Regions from separate parts of the Homo sapiens genome. Here region 1 is linked to region 2. The links are contacts of gene promoters, found by promoter capture Hi-C in human tissues and cell types (Jung and others, 2019). All regions are on one chromosome and are shown on one strand. The core of a region is centred on a gene start or on the middle of the fragment in contact, and the rest is flanking DNA. Distances in the headings are between cores, read along the strand shown. Region 1 overlaps SIL1 (SIL1 nucleotide exchange factor). Region 2 holds the start of HSPA9 (heat shock protein family A (Hsp70) member 9).

Region 1 (4,492 bases), core at 710-3,209, 590 kb before region 2:
TCCAGCCTGGGCAATAGAGCAAGACTCTGTCTCAAAAAAAAAAAAAAAAAATCTATCTATATACACACACACATACACACACACACACCATACTTTTCTGTTTCATTGTATGCCTTGTGTTTTGGGTTCAAAACTGGACATTTGAATATAATAATGTGGTAACCCTGGAAAGCAGATCTTTTGCCTTTCCCAGTGTTTGTGGTTTTCGTTTTTGTTTTTATTGTCATAGGCTTTGTGTGCTGAGGATCAGCCTCAGGTGTAAACTTAAGGTCTTCTCAGGTCTCTTTTGAGCCTGCACTTTCCCCTGGGCATGTGCAGTGACTTTCTGATTTTCCTTACACATGTAGATGCCTTAAAAACATTTTTGTTTAGAGGCAGGATCTTGCTATGTTGTCCAATCAGGAGTACTGGGACTATTCATAGACATGATTATAATGCACTATACCATCCAACTCCTGGGCTCATGCAATCCTCCCATCCCAGCCTTTTGAGTAGCTGGGACTACAAGCATGCATGACTGGACAGGCTTATGTAGTTGCCTTTAAAAATTCAGTTTTTTTTTTTTTTTTTGAGACAGGGTCTTCATTGCCCAGGCTGGAGTGAAGTGGTGTGATCACAAGTCACTACAGCCTTAACTTCCTGGGCTCAGGTGATTCTCCCACCTCAGCCTCCAGAGTAACTGGGACTACAGACACGTGCCGTCAGGCCCACTTAATTTTTTGTAGAGATGGGGTTTTGCCATGTTGCCCAGGATGGTCTTAAACTCCTGGGTTCAAGCGATCTGCCTGTTTTGGCCTCCTATACTGGGATTACAGGTGTCAGTCACTGCGCCTTGCTTGAATGTTCTTTAATGTCTGACTCCCAAAAGGTGAAAAAGATAAATGATCAGGGGAGGAAAAAAAAAAGCATTGGCCCTTTAAATCTCCAGGAAGTCACTTCAGCCTGAGGGAAAGGGGCTTGCAACCGGGCTGGGAGGAGCAACAACAATCTCTGCTACTACTTTGTCTGCACCTCTGTAATCAGAAGCAGCAATCAGAATCAGCACAGATCCCCAGTATTTGGAAGACAGTGTTCTTTTTGTGCAAGCTGTGTGCAAGCTGCTCCAGGAACACATACACAACTACCTGCCGTGAAGTTGGGGGAAACGTAGCTGCTACTCTGCTAAGAGTTGAAATTGATAGACATTAACTGCAATTTGCCATCAAGGCCTTTCCCTGGAAGTTGCAAGGCTTCAGTTGTTTCCAGAGTTCCAAAATACAGCCATACTTCACTTAACAACAGGGATAGTTCTGAAAAATGTGTTAAGTGATTTTTGTCCTTGTGCAAACCTCATAAAGTGTACTTACATAAACCTAGATGGTATAGCCTACCACACATCTAAGCTTTATTGTATAGCCTCTTGCTCCTAGGCTAAAACCTGTACAGCTTGCTACTGTACTCAATATTATAGACAATTGTAACACAATGGTAAGCATTTATGTACCTAAACATTTCTAAACATAGAAAAGGTACAGTAAAAATGTAGTATAAAAGATAAAAAATGGTAGCTGCACACGGGTGTCACATGCCTGGAGTCCCAGCTACTTGGGAGGCTGAGGTAGGAGGATTGCTTGAGCCCAGGAGTTCAAGATCAGCCTGGGCAACAGAAGGAGACCCCAACCTATTAAAAGAGAAAAAATAAAAAGTAGTACCCCTGTACAGTGCACTTAACATGAATGGAGCTTGCAGGACTGGAAGTTGCTCTAGGTGAGTCAGTGAGTAAGTGGTCAGTGAATATGAAAGCCTAGGATGTTACTGTATACTACTGTAGACTTTATAAACACTGTACACTTAGGCTACGCTACATTTATAAAAAATTTTTTCTTCAATAATAAATGTAGCTGTAGCTTACTGTAATATTTTTACTTTATATACTTTAAAATTTAAAACTGTTGACTCATAATAACAGCTTAAACAAATGCATATTGTACAACGGCACAAAAATATTTATACATTATTCTGTAAGCATTTTTCTATTAGCAGTTTTTAATTTTACTTTTTAAACTTTTTTTGTTAAAAATAAAGACAAAAATACATTAGCCTAGGTCTACACAGGGTCAGGATCATTAACATCACTGTCTTCTATCTTCACATTTAGTCCCACTGGAAGGTCTTCAGGGGCAATCACACACTTGGAACTGTCATTTCCTGTGATAATAGTGCCTTCTGGAAAGACCTGCTTGAGGCTGGTTTACAGTTAACTTTGTTTTTCTTTTAAAGCCACTCCTTGGCTGGGTACTGTGGCTCACGCCTGTAATTTCAGCACTTTGGGAGGCTGAGGCGGGGGGTGGGGGTTACTTGAGCCCAGGAGTTCAGGATCAGCCTGGGCAACATGGCGAAACCGTGTTAGTAGTCTCTACTAAAAATACAAGACAAAGGCTGGGCGCGGTGGCTCACGCCTGTAATCTCAGCACTTTGGGAGGCTGAGGCGGGTGGATCACAAGGTCAGGAGATCGAGACCATCCTGGCTAACACGGTGAAACCCCGTCTCTACTAAAAATACAAAAAAATAATTAGCCGGGCGTGGTGGTGGGTGCCTGTATTCCCAGCTACTTGGGAGGCTGAGGCAGGAGAATGGTATGCACTTGGGAGGCAGAGCTTGCAGTGAGCTGAGATTGTGCCACTGCACTCCAGCCTGGGCGACAGAGTGAGACTCTGTCTCAAAAAAAACAAAAACATTGCCAGGTGTGCTGGTGTGTGCCTGTAGTGCCCGTTACTTAGGAGGATGAGGTGGGAAAATCACCTGAGCCTGGAAAGTTGAGGCTCCAGTGAGCTGCTATCATGCCACCGCACTCCAGCCTGGGCTATGGGAATGAGATCCTGTCTCAGGAAAAAGAAAAAAAGTCACTCCTTGCCCAGGCTGTAATGCAATGGCATGATGATAGCCCACTGCAACCCCAAATTCCTTGGCTCAAGCAGTCCTCCTGCCTCAGCCTTCCAAGTAGCTGGGACTACAGGTACTCATCACCACGCCTATTTTTGTATTTTTTGTAAGGACAGGATCTTGCTATATTGCTCAGGCTGATCTTGAACTTGTGGCCTCAAGGGATCCTCCTGTCTTGACCTTCTAAAGCTCTGGGATTGCAGGCATGAGCCACTATGCCTGGCCCCTCTTAAAAAATAAGTAGAATGAGTACCCTCTAAAATAGCAATAAGAAGTATTTAATGGTAAATACTAGGTGATAGGAATGTTTCAGCTCCATTGTCATCTTATGAGACCACTGTCGTATAAGTGGTCTGTTGTTGACTGAAATGTGCAGCACATGACTCTGATTTATATCAGACAAATTCTGTCAGTGCAGTTGTTGTCTAGTTAGGGAGACAGATTTCTGTGCTGTTGACGAAGAGTTAGACTCTGTAAAATATTTTTTAGAGACTTATTCTGAGCCAAACCTGAGTGACCATGGCCCATGACATAGCCCTCAGGAGGTCCTGAGAACATGTGCCCAAGGTGTTCGGGGTACAGCTTGGTTTTATATATTTCAGGGAGGCACAAGACATCAATCAAATACATTTAAGAAATACAGGCCAGGCGTGGTGGCTCAGGCCTGTAATCCCAGCACTTTGGGAGGCCTAGGTGGGCGGATCTTGAGGTCAGGAGATCGAGACCATCCTGGCTAACACGGTGAAACTCCATCTCTACTAAAAAATAATAAAAAAAAATTAGCCGGGCATGGTGGGCATGTACCTGTAGCCCCAGCTACTCAGGAGTCTGAGGCAGGAGAATCACTTGAACACAGGAAGCGGAGGTTGCAGTAAACCGAGATCGTGTCACTGTATTCCAGCCTGGTGACAGGGTGAGACCCCGTCTCAAAAAATAATAATAATAAAAATAATAAAAAAGACAGACATTGGTTTGGCCTGTAATCCCAGCAATTTGGGAGGCTAAGGTGGGCGGATCACCTGAGGTCAGGAGTTCAAGACCAGCCTGGCTAACATGGTGAAACCCTGTTTCTACTAAAAATACAAAAAATTAGCCAGGTGTGGTGGCATGTGCCTGTAATCCCAGCTAGTCGGGAGGCTGAGGCATGAGAATTGCTTGAACCTGGGAGGTGGAGGTTGCAGTGAGCCGAGATCACACATTTGTGCTCCAGCTTGGGCAACAAGAATGAAACTCCATCTCAAAAAAACAAACAAACAAGAAATACATTGGTTTGGTTCAGAAAGGTGGGACAACTCAAAGTGGGGGCTTCCAGGCTATAGGTAAATTTAAACATTTTCTGGCTGACGGTTGAGTTTATCTGAAGATCTGGGATCAATAGAAAGGAAATGTTTAGGTTAACATAAAGGATTGTGGAGACCAAGTTTTATTGTGCAGAGGAAGCTCTCAGGTAGCACACTTCAGAGAGAGCAGGTTGTAAAATGTTTCTTATCGGACCTAAAAGAATGCGTGACTCTTAGTTGATTATCTCCTGGATCTGGAAAGGAAGGAAGGAAGAAAGGAAAACAAGGG
Region 2 (4,439 bases), core at 152-2,651:
ATCCTGGCCAACATGGTGAAACCCGGTGTCTACCAAAAATATAAAAATTAGCTGGGCGTGGTGGCGCGCGCCTGTAATCCCATCTACTTGGGAGGCTGAGGCAGGAGAATAGCTTGAACCAGGGAGTCAGAGGTTGCAGTGAGCCGAGATGGCGCCACTGCACTCAAGCCTGGCGACAAAGACTGCCTCAAAAAAAAAAACAAAAACCTAAAAACTGGTCACAGGGTAGTGAAGTAGTTGACATCCTGCCACCAGCACAAGGTTTAAAAAGGGCCAGAGGAGTCTCAAGTCAGGCCCAGCACAGTGGGGAGAGGAAGAGCCTGAAGCTCAGCTATTTTTCTTTTTTTTCTTGAGACGGAGTCTCGCTCTGTCGCCCAGGCTGGAGTGCAGTGGCGCGATCTCGGCCCACTGCAAGCTCCGCCTCCCGGGTTCACGCCGTTCTCCTGCCTCAGCCTCCCGAGTAGCTGGGACTACAAGCGCCTGCCACCACGCCCGGCTACTTTTTCGTATTTTCAGTAGAGACGGGGTTTCACCGTGTTAGCCAGGATGGTCTCGATCTCCTAACCTCGCGATCCGCTCGCTTCGGCCTCCCAAAAGTGCTGGGATTACAGGCGTGAGCGCCCGGCCAAGCTCAGCTATTTTTTTTTCCCTTTGTGCAGGCTAATTGGCCTAATGTTCTGTGTGAATCAAACGCTTCGTAGTTGGAAACCCAAGACCCCTGTGATAAAACGCAACACGAAATTGTTTAACGTCTGTCTGCATATCCAAGTGTCTTTCAAGTTGTGAACAACGGGCGGGACCAAACAACAAAAGTACTGACGTCCTCACTTCACAAAGCCACAAGACAAGATGGCGCCGTCCTCCAGGAGCGGGAGCTGGGAACACGTCCACGCCCGGGGGGTGTGCACGCGCCCGGGCTCGCCCCAGGGAACGCTGGCGTGCACTCGGGCACCCAGTGAGCGCCGCAGTTAGTCTCCACCCATGTTTTCCGCCACTCCTTGCGCACATGCGCTCTAGGTTCTTAGCTGGATGTCTGTTGCGCCAACAGGCTCCTCCTCCCGCGCAACTGACGCAAGAAGACTGTAATCGGTTCGCAATTTATCCCGTGTGACCTTGAGTCTTTCCTGTCGCCGAGGACCGGGGCTGTCCGAGATACGGCCTTCATATCCCTCTTCCTCCCCTGGACTCTTTCTGAGCTCAGAGCCGCCGCAGCCGGGACAGGAGGGCAGGCTTTCTCCAACCATCATGCTGCGGAGCATATTACCTGTACGCCCTGGCTCCGGGAGCGGCAGTCGAGTATCCTCTGGTCAGGCGGCGCGGGCGGCGCCTCAGCGGAAGAGCGGGCCTCTGGGCCGCAGTGACCAACCCCCGCCCCTCACCCCACGTGGTTGGAGGTTTCCAGAAGCGCTGCCGCCACCGCATCGCGCAGCTCTTTGCCGTCGGAGCGCTTGTTTGCTGCCTCGTACTCCTCCATTTATCCGCCATGATAAGTGCCAGCCGAGCTGCAGCAGCCCGTCTCGTGGGCGCCGCAGCCTCCCGGGGCCCTACGGCCGCCCGCCACCAGGTGAGGAACTGGGACCTTCCCGAATGGGGTCACGGCCTCGGGCCTTGGGCCTCGGGCTTCGCTGCGGCAGGCCGCGCGCCCTTTAGGGTTTGAATTCTCCAGTATAGGTCAGGCGGGAAGGAAGGTAACGGGCCTTCCATAGTTAGCGCTGCCGGGTCAAGATTTTGCCCAAGGTTTTGCCTCCGGCTTGGGCCCTGCTGAGTCACACCCCTCGCGATCTAGAGTGTCATTTCAAAATTACCAGGTAGTGGTCCTCATGGCCTGTTCTGTGGCTGAATGGAAAGGTTTGGCCTTGGGGGTGAGGGATGCAGTCTATTGGGAAAGCCACTATTTTCAGTTTTATTTTTGGCTCCTCTACAGAATACAGAGTGTGTAAGGATCCCGTTGATACGGTGAAATAAAATAAGAAAGCTCTGAGTCGGAACTCCAGTTTTCGTGCTTAGCAACATTTTCTCAAAATCTGTGGTGTAAGATTGTACTCGTTTGTTACTTCAGAAAAAAAAGCAGATCGTGGGGCGGAGAAAAGGCTATGGAGTGGTTACTTGTTTTCTAAAATAAAAGACAAATGCTTTAGAGAACAGGAATTGTATGTGGGCATTAAGGAAGGCTTGGAAGGAGCCTGAGGTTAAGTTGTAATAAAGGTCTTTTATCCTAGTGAAACGCCACTACTTTTCTTTTTTCTTTCAAAGACCCTTAGTAACTCTAGTTCTTTTAAACTAATTGCACGGCAAGGTAAGGGGAAGTGTTTTCCCCCAGGGGACATCTGGCAATGTCTGTGGATATTTTAGGTTGTCACTTACTTACTGGGGTGCTTATTGGTTTCTAGGGTGTCGAGGCCAGGGATGCTGCTGTATATCCTACAATGCACAGAACAGCCCCCACCACAAAAATTTCGCCCAAAATTAATAGCGCCACGGTTGAGAAATCCTACTGTAATGTGATTCTAAGGCCATCTTTTATTTACCTTTTTTCGTCTTACTTATTTGGGAAACTTTAATATTTACTGTTTTAGTAGCTTAATGTATTTTATATACTAAGTGAGCCCAAGTTTTCTCTTTTTCCTCCCAGGATACACACTGGTTGGTGACTGAGTCAGTTTTTTCTTTTTTAGGATAGCTGGAATGGCCTTAGTCATGAGGCTTTTAGACTTGTTTCAAGGCGGGATTATGCGTAAGTATAATATCATTTCCTTTGAGAGGGAATACATATTAAACTTCAAAGCAGTGTTTTCTACATTTGTGATTATTCTTCTCTGTAATTATTTATCTGTATTTATTTAGAGATTATGTAGTATACCACTGTTAATTTTCCAATTAAATATTATCTTCCAGTGACTTTGGTCTATCAAGATAACAATAGCTGTGACACTGTTCTAAATGTCTTACAGATCAGAAGCAATCAAGGGAGCAGTTGTTGGTATTGATTTGGGTACTACCAACTCCTGCGTGGCAGTTATGGAAGGTAAACAAGCAAAGGTGAGCATGATTGATAACTAGTACCTTATCCAGAATCTGTCCAGAATTCTGTGCTCTTTTCCTTAGTTAAGGAATTTGAGAACCTGATTTGCGCTTTTTTTTTTTTTTTTTTTTTTTTTTTGGAGACAGTCTCTATAGCCCATGGTGGAGTGCAGTGGCACGGTCTCCGCTCACTGCAACCTCTGCCTCCTGGGTTCAAACAGTTCTCCTGCCTTGGCCACATAGCTGGGATTACAGGCATGAACCACCATTCCTGGCTAATTTTTTGTATTTTCAGTAGAGACAGTTCCACTGTGTTGGCCAGGCTGGTCTTGAGCTCAAGTGATCCGCCCACGTTGGCCTCCAAAGTGCTGGGATTACAGATGTGAACCACTAAGCCTGGCCTCGAAGTACTTCCAACTAAAACAGCAAAAACATAACTATAGATCAGGGCTGACCGGGCATAATGGCTCACGCCTGCAGTCCCAGCACTTTGGGAGGCCAAGGGGGGTGGATTACCTGAGGTCCCAAGTTCAAGACCAGCCCGGCCAAAATGGTGAAACCCCGTCTCTACTAAAAATGCAAAAAATTGGCCGGGTACAGTGGCTCACACCTGAAATCCTAGCACTTTGGGAGGCCAAGGCGGGTGGATCACAAGGTCAAGAGATCGAGACCATTCTGGCCAACATGGTGAAACCTGTCTCTACTAAAAATACAAAAATTAGCTGGGCGTAGTGGCACACACCTGTAGTCCCCGCTACTCGGGAGGCTGAGGCAGGAGAATCGCTTGAACCCAGGAGGTGGAGGTTGCAGTGAGCCAAGATCACATCACTGTACTCCAGCCTGGGTGACAGAGCGAGACTTTGTCTCAAAAAAAAAAAAAGAAGAGACTATAGATCAGGTTTTTCATACCCAATGTTGGGACAAGAATCTTTACTTCCACATGGAGAATTATATCTACTTCTAAGTTTTTTGGGGGGTTGGCCACAGATATCAGGCATATAGGAAAAATGCCAAGAAGCCCAAATTAGGGCCAAGAGAAGGAATAATCTCTTGGTGCCAAACAAGTGGGATAAGAAGACCATAGACAGTTCAGGTTATTTCAGAAGAGGAGATTGGGGGGAAAGGAAGTATGAAAGCAAAAGAGGCCATGAATGGAAGAAGCAAGAGTCAAGAATTCCAGGTGTTCTAAATCTTGCTAAGAACCCGGTGGGAATAAAGGTTGCATGTACAGAGTAAGGAGGCTTCAAAAGAAATAGCCTGCTCCAATGAACAACATGCATTACTTCAGAGATGAAGCTCCACTTCTAGTCTGTCTCTGCACACCCAACTTTGTTTCAATTTAGAAAATGCAGCACTTTGGTGGTTACCAGAGTAACCAAACAGTGCAAGCCATTCCCACCCCTCTTAATAGTAAATTA

What was found. The method cuts DNA at HindIII sites, captures the fragments that hold promoters and counts their contacts. A contact is called where the count stands out against the background at its distance.
Region 1: a contact is called between a fragment that was not itself captured here and the fragment with the promoter of HSPA9 in region 2, in 1 of the 25 tissues and cell types used here (IMR-90 fibroblasts).

The regions. Positions count from the first base shown.
Region 1 is chr5:139,165,036-139,169,527 of GRCh38, reverse strand. The region is part of intron 1 of SIL1 (SIL1 nucleotide exchange factor); the gene reads left to right. Among named protein-coding and RNA genes, the nearest start is that of SIL1, 31 kb to the left of the region's middle. The HindIII fragment of the contact is 8,384 bases long and covers 1-4,492 here.
Region 2 is chr5:138,572,363-138,576,801 of GRCh38, reverse strand. HSPA9 (heat shock protein family A (Hsp70) member 9) reads left to right here and starts at 1,401. Exons shown (of 17, transcript NM_004134.7): 1 at 1,401-1,564; 2 at 2,676-2,734; 3 at 2,952-3,039. The coding sequence starts at 1,484. All of the region lies in intron 1 of LOC105379193 (a long non-coding RNA gene), which reads right to left. RefSeq lists enhancers at 807-946, 524-1,172, 1,087-1,366, 1,607-1,656, 1,173-1,820. The HindIII fragment of the contact is 16,836 bases long and covers 1-4,439 here.